2 separate regions of the Homo sapiens genome follow, and region 2 is linked to region 1. The links are contacts of gene promoters, found by promoter capture Hi-C in blood cells and fetal thymus (Javierre and others, 2016). All regions are on one chromosome and are shown on one strand. Each heading gives the region's core, a stretch centred on a gene start or on the middle of the fragment in contact. The rest is flanking DNA. Distances are from core to core; before and after follow the strand shown.

The links. Contacts are between HindIII fragments. The CHiCAGO score rates a contact against its expected background, and 5 or more counts as called.
Region 2: a fragment that was not itself captured here is called in contact with the fragment with the promoter of IGF2BP2 in region 1 in 2 of 17 cell types (megakaryocytes and endothelial precursors); the score reaches 7.7 in megakaryocytes.

The regions. Positions count from the first base shown.
Region 1 is chr3:185,823,230-185,826,625 of GRCh38, forward strand. It overlaps IGF2BP2 (insulin like growth factor 2 mRNA binding protein 2), which reads right to left and starts at 1,813. Exons shown (of 16, transcript NM_006548.6): 1 at 1,554-1,813. The coding sequence starts at 1,731. RefSeq lists an enhancer at 1-679 and silencers at 1,619-1,849, 1,861-2,130, 2,541-2,630. The HindIII fragment of the contact is 1,788 bases long and covers 1,718-3,396 here.
Region 2 is chr3:185,732,891-185,736,286 of GRCh38, forward strand. The region is part of intron 2 of IGF2BP2 (insulin like growth factor 2 mRNA binding protein 2); the gene reads right to left. Among named protein-coding and RNA genes, the nearest start is that of IGF2BP2-AS1, 21 kb to the left of the region's middle. RefSeq lists a silencer at 1,115-1,164. The HindIII fragment of the contact is 2,367 bases long and covers 387-2,753 here.

The DNA.
Region 1 (3,396 bases), core at 563-3,062:
AAAGCACTCAGAACCTTGCTTAGATCAAGCCCGCGGGGGTCTAGGGGGGGCACGCACGGAACTCCACGCTCGGGCTCCGCCTTCGGGCGCCCCCAAGGGGTCTCCTACCCGGATCGAGCTGGGCGAACTTGGTTCCCAGTAGAAAGAAAGGTGGGCGCCCCGTGTCTCGGGACAAGGCGAGGAGGGTGCGAGCCCGGGTCGGACCCCAGGTATAGCCGTGGGTGGCATTACCGGAAAAACAAATTTAATAAAGAGCGGCGCCAATTTGAAAGGATGAGCTCATTTGAAACTCAAGCTGCAGGGCTGGCGCGGCCCCGCTGCTCTCCCGGCCCCCACCTCTCCATTCCGCTAATCCGGGGCCCGAAGGCTCCACCGGGCTCCCCTCCCTGCCCTCTCCTCCCGGTGGCCCCGAGAAAACGAGCCGAAGCCCCCCGGAGTCCGCCGCAGCGACAGCCCTGTCCCTGCCCGCTCCTGGGTGTCACCTTGGCCTCGCCGCCGCCCCGCCCCCACTCCACACGCCGGTGGGGAAGGGGCTCCCGCCGGGCCGGGGTTCGGGGGGCGCCGGCCGGGGCCCGGGGGCCCGCGCGGCTGGGAGCGGAGCGTGTGCTGGGGAGAGTTGGGGAGTGCGCGCGCGCGAGTGTGTGTGTGTGTCGCTCTCCGTCTCCTGTCTGGGCTCCAGCGCGCTCGCGGGCCCCCCGGTCGCCTCTTTCCCGGTTCTCAACCCTGGCCCCCACCGAGTTGAGACAGGGCACCTCGTAAAAAGGTGCTTCTGGCCGAGCGGGAGGCGGGGGGACGGGCGGCGGAAAGCCCCCAGCCCCGAGTTCTTCTCAATAAAATCGGACAAAAAATTCAGAGAAAAATAGGAGCGCTTGAGAGAGCAAGCGAGAGGGGACTGAGGTTCGGGAAAGGACCGAGGGGATGTGCCGTCGTGCGAGGGCTGGGGCTGGGGGAGCCCCGAGATCTCGAAGGGGGTCACCAGGGTGGCGCCGAGGGGGTGCCAAAAGTGGGGGGCCGTGGGGCGAGGTGGGGAGGGGGCTCGAAAGGAGAGTGCGGCTCAGGAGACGCCAGAGGGCGAGAGGTTCTGGGCACGAGGCACTGGAAGAGAGAAGGTCCGGCCGGGGGAGGAGGAAGAGACGCTGGATTTGGGGAAGGGGGGACCCTGACAAAGGGGGTGACAGGAAGGTCAGGGGAGAAGTGAGACAGGGGACGCTCAAAGGGTGGGGGGCGGGGAAGCTCAGAGCAGCCCGGGGCGCCAGGCGAACGAGGGGTGCCCCTAAGGAGCCGGCGAGCCTCGGGAGCCTTCGGAGCGGCACGGGGGGCGCCCCAAGGCTGCGGCCCCGAGGGCGAGGGCAGAGTCCAGAGCTGTGGGGGGAGGGGAGCGGGCCGTCCCAGGAGCGGGCCGGCGGCGAGAGTTGAGGGTCTGGTGCGTGGAAGTGAGCGTGCGGGCGCGGGAGCCGCCGCCGGGCGCCGCCCGCCGGACTCGGCCTCCCTCCCGGCGCCGTCCCGGCCTGAGCGGGGCGAGGCGGGGGGAGGGGGCCGCGCTGAGTGCTCACCCGAGAGGGTCTCGATGGCGCGGATGGCCCAGTTCTGGTCGGGGTAGTCCACGAAGGCGTAGCCGGACTTCAGCAGGACCTGTCCCGCCAGGGGCAGCTTCCTGTCCCCAAAGAGCTGCCGGAGGTCGTCGGCGGTGACGGCGGGGCTCAGGTTCCCGATGTAAAGCTTGTTCATCATCCGTCTCTTCCCCGAGAGCCCGCGGCTCCCCCGGCCCGGTACCCGGCGCTCCTCGCCTCCTCCGCTGCCCTCGTCTCTCCTCCTCCTCCGCCCCCCCTCCCCGCCCTCCGCCCGCCCGCCACCCACCCCCACCCTCAGCCTGGCTCCCCCCACCGCGGCCGGCCCGGCCCGCCCGGGGGCAGAGGCGGAGGCGGGGACTCGGCGCGGCTGCCTCCTCGGGGCAGAGTCCCGGGCCGGGCGGCGGCGCGCGGACAAAGCGCTCTCTCTGCCTCCCTCTCTCTCCCTCTCAAGGCGGTGGCGGGAGGAGGAGCAGCGGCGGGCGGCGGCAGCGCACCCCGCGTGTGTCTGTGTGAGAGTTTGTACGGGCGTGTGCGCAGCCGAGAGGGAGCGAGCGAGCGCCCCCTCCCCGCCCCGCGCCGCTGCGCCCCTCGCCTCGCGCCCACCGCGCTCGGCAGTGGCTGCTCGGGCTCCGGCCCCGCGCCAGGCGGGCGGAAGCGGGTCGCGGCCCCGGGCTGGGGCTCCGGGCGCCGGAACCCCGGGCGGGCGCGGCGCCGAGGCCGGGCGAGCGGCGGGGCGGGGAAGGCGCGCCCCGGGCGCGGGTGGGAGCGCGCGAGGGGGCGACGGGGAGCCGCGGGCGTGGGAGGGAGAGGGGCTGCGAGTGAGCGCGGAGAGGGGTGTGCGCAAGGTGGACCGGATGTGAGTGCGCTGCTGCCAGGGCAAGCGGGAAGGTGTGTCCCGGAGGTGAGAGGCGAGGGCAGGCTGGGAGACAACAACTTTCGCAGCGACTTGGCCGGGGCTGGCGCCCTGCGCGTTCCCGGGCCGTGCGCTCGCTCTGAGACCCGCTCCCCGCCACGCTCTCTGAGGTGACCGAGCGGCGCGTGTGGTCGAAGGATCGCGCGCGGGAGTCGGGACGCCTAGGACCGGGGTTGGCCGGGCCCTCGCGGACCGTGCTCGCGGGGAAGTGGTTCCCGGTCCCGGGCCTCAGTTTCCCGACCGGGGAGGGAAGGCGGAAGGCCAGCGCGGAGTCACGTCCTCTCCGCCCAGACCCCGCGTGTCCGGAACCCCGCGGCAGGCGGCAGCCTGACGTTGGCAGCTGCTCTCTATTCTGGGAAGTGCCGAGGGCTTCCCGGGCGGCGGCGGCGAAAGCCAGGTGGCGGGTGGGGAAACGAACGCCGAGGGGCCAGGGACTGCGGCGAGGCCGGAGCGCTGGGGTCAGCGGCCGGGGGACGGATGGTCGCCGCCCGGCTGCGCGGCCGGTTCAGCTCCAAAGCCAGGGTGGTGGGAGGCGAGGGTGGCTGGAAGCGGAGGAGCGCAGGCTGTGTAGGAGTTCCCCGAGCACTGGGAAGGGCCCGGAGAGGAAAGAGGTCCTTCCAAGCGGAGGAAACAACGTGACCGACGGAAGAGGCAGGGTTGGGATGAGAGCAGGCTGGAGCCGAGGGGCTCGGGCAGGAGCCAGACAGGCTAGAGCGGGCTGCAAGTTCCGGGGCCCGGCTGGAAGCCTGATGGTTAGAGCCTGGTCCCAGCCAGGAAATGAAATTCTACAGGAGGGAGAAGAATGGCGGGATTCAGAGGTGAGGAGGCAGAAGAAGATTCCAAGCTCTGGACCTCTGGGGGCCACTGGGAGAGTTGAAGGTTTGATCGCGGATATGTTGGGTTTTGTGAAGG
Region 2 (3,396 bases), core at 320-2,819, 91 kb before region 1:
AATGTTCACATACCTCAGGATGTTACAGCTTCTTTCTGGAATGTTGCTACTGTCCTGTTAATCCCTCCCCCAACCTGCCCACCACAATGTTCTCTTATCCTGTTGTTCATCACCCCACTTCCCTTCCTTCCACTATACTGCATTCTCCTGCTTCCCCACCCTATTCATCTAGGAACTAGGGGAGGATACAATAAAGCTGATAGTCATAAGACATTTCACAGACTAGGCTCTGCCAAAGAACACAATCATCTGATTCCCTTGTCCCTACAAAGTAAGAATCTTGGAAATCATCTATTCTCATTCTTATTTTACTAAAGAGGAACCTGAGAAAATGTAAAGTGATTGATAAGCCATATTTTCTCAATCCATTTCCGTATATTTCAGGAAGCTTGATCCCAAGGAAAAGAGGGTGCTCCACAGTCAAAGGGAGAAGGAAACTGAGGAATGGTTAAGACTGTCAGTACCCACTCATCATCATTTACTGAGCATTTACTAGATGCTAAGCACCAGAAGTCCTATGTTAGCAAAGGCAGACAAAGAAAGCCCTATGTGTTTAAAATTTAACAGATAATAAATCAGAGCCAGACTGGGCGCGGTGGCTCACGCCTGTAATCCCAACACTTTGGGAGGCCGAGGCAGGCGGATCACCTGAGGTCGGGAGTTCGAGACCAGCCTGACCAACATGGAGAAACCCCATGTCTACTAAAAATACAAAACTAGCTGGGTGTGGTGGCGCATGCCTGTAATCCCAGCTACTCAGGAGGGTGAGGAAGGAGAATCGCTTGAACCCGGGAGGCGGAGGTTGTGGTGAGCCAAGATTGCACCATTGCACTCCAGCCTGGGCAACAAGAGCGAAACTCCGCCTCAATAATAATAATAATAATAAATAAATAAATTAGAGCCAAAAATAAAGTAAATGCAACAAGCACATTAAAAACAAACAAACAGTAGTTTAGGAAAATGAAAAGTTTAGCAAGTCTCTCTATGAATGGAACAGGAAAGACATGAAGAAAAATTAAAAACTGGGTAAGGACTAAATAATTCACTCACCTTGCAATTTAAGGATTTGTTTAGAAAGAGTGTGTACATTCATTACTGGGAAAGTATTTCTGGTGACCAAAAAAATCCCACAGTAACAACACTGAAGTATTTTTCACAAGAACCCTTAACCCCCTTACTTCGCCACAAGAGGGTGCACATTTCCTTAGGAATACAGTAACCCAGGGAAACCTGCTCAAGTTCCTCTAGGCAGCTGCTCACCTCTGCTCCGGCACCTCTCTCCCTAGCCATGGCAGTAATGAGCATCTGCACATAGTTACATAGGTGAAACGTGTTCACATACTTTATCTCATTCAATTCCAACAACAGCTCTGTGAGGGCGGGTTGGGCAACTTATCAACCCCATTTTATAGAAGAGGAAACACACTCAGAGGTGAAGTGACTTGCCCAAGGTCAGAGAGATCATAATGCTAGAGCCCAAATGCAAACTCACGTTGTCTAGTTCCCAAATCCTGTATACATTTTCCTTACCTCCCTATTAAAGCATAATCAAAAATTCCACAATCGTTCAGCGTCTCTGTTCATCCATTCTACTTCTTCTGAGCAAAGAATCATACACTGGGCAGATGAGAAACTGCTCACTTTTGCATTGTTAAAAACGAGTGAAAGCTGGTTTTTAACAAGTGTGTGTTAGCACCTGGCAATTATCTTTATAGGTTTCCAATGAAGTGAGAAGTACGCTGAAACTTGTCTACAGTATTTAAGGCAGCAGTAACGTGGAAAAAAATAATTTTAATTTTCCTGCTTACAGCAGGGAAATTAATTGTAAGCTCAACTTTCTTTGGACAGATCTTATGAGACTCAGGCTAAAACCTAACTCCAAAACCCTCCTCCTGTCAGAAACACTAGAGTATAGAGGTCAAGGATTTTGGAGTTGGATGCCAGGCTGCCTGGGTTCAAATCCAGGTTTTCCCACTTACCATTTGACCTTGGCCAATTACTCAACTCCGACGTGCCTCAATCTCCCCTCTGCAGAGTGGAGATAAGAGCAGCAGCTCCCTCACACTGTAATAGCGAAGACAGCGTTGTAACATGAAAGCACACATAAGTGCTCAAGCTACAAAAGGCAGTCCTTACTCTAAAAGGCAGATGAGATTATTAATGTTACAGACTAAAGAAAATATATTAATTTTATGTGCATTTTATCAGTGAATTACATTTTATGACAATATCAATGCTTGAAAATACATTTAAATCCTTTTTTTTTTTTTTTTGAGACCAAGTCTCGCTCTGTCGCCCAGGCTGGAGTGCAGCGGCATGAACTCAGCTCACTGCAACCTCCGCCTTCCGGGTTCAAGTGATTCTCGTCCCTCAGCCTCCCGAGTAGCTGGGACTACAGGCATTAGCCACCACACCAGGCTAATTTTTGTATTTTTAGTAGAGATGGGGTTTCGCTGTGTTGGCCAGGCTGGTCTTGAACTCCTGACTTCAGGTGATCCACCTGCCTCGGCCTCCCAAAGTGCTGGGATTACAGGCATGAGCCACTGTGCCTGGCCTTACATCCCTTAATCTATGTGCACAGCAATTATGTCTATCTTAAAGGATTTACAGCATAAATATAAATAGCTAAGAACAAAGCTCTCATATCTTTGCTTTTATGACAGTGTTTGGCATTATCGATGGTCAGTCTCATGCCAAGTCCTTGGTCAAGAAAAAAGAGCTAAATTACAGAGTTCCTCCGGGAGGAGATAATAAGCTTTACACAGCAGAGGGGAAGGCTCCTTACCCCAGGAACCTGAAGACCCAGGCTGTACTTACAGCTCTGCCACTAAATAGCATCTCCTAATCCCACATCCATAACTCTTAAATATTTCTAAAAATATACCTTTTCATTTCCATCACCATGATCTTAATTCATATCCTTAACAGCATGGACTCCTAACTAGCCACAGAAGTGGAGCTCATTAAGTTTGTTGAATGAGTGAATGAATGGGGGGTGGGATAGTGACACCAAAGAAGACCACAGAAAACGGGGGAGAAGATTAGTTTATAAACTATATGCATACACTTTGTTATCTCAAGTCCTAGCTCAGCTCTGATTTCACAGAATGCTGGACCACTCCAGTAAGGCTAACCAGAAGGAATCCACCCTCCCTCTCAGAGTTTTTTCTTAGTGGTAGTGTCACAGGCCCCAAGGGGTCCCCCAGATCACCGTTTCAGTCCAGTTTGTTGGATCAAATCCATCAGATCCTTAAGGCCAGCAGCTCCTGCACCTGGTTGAAGCTGCCTTGGCACCTCTAGGTCTAAGGGGGTACTGGGCCAAGGTCACGGGGACTCGGAGGTGGGGGGGCCACTCTTTCACAGGGTCTGAGTGCCTTCCAGCTCCTTCCAAGGGCC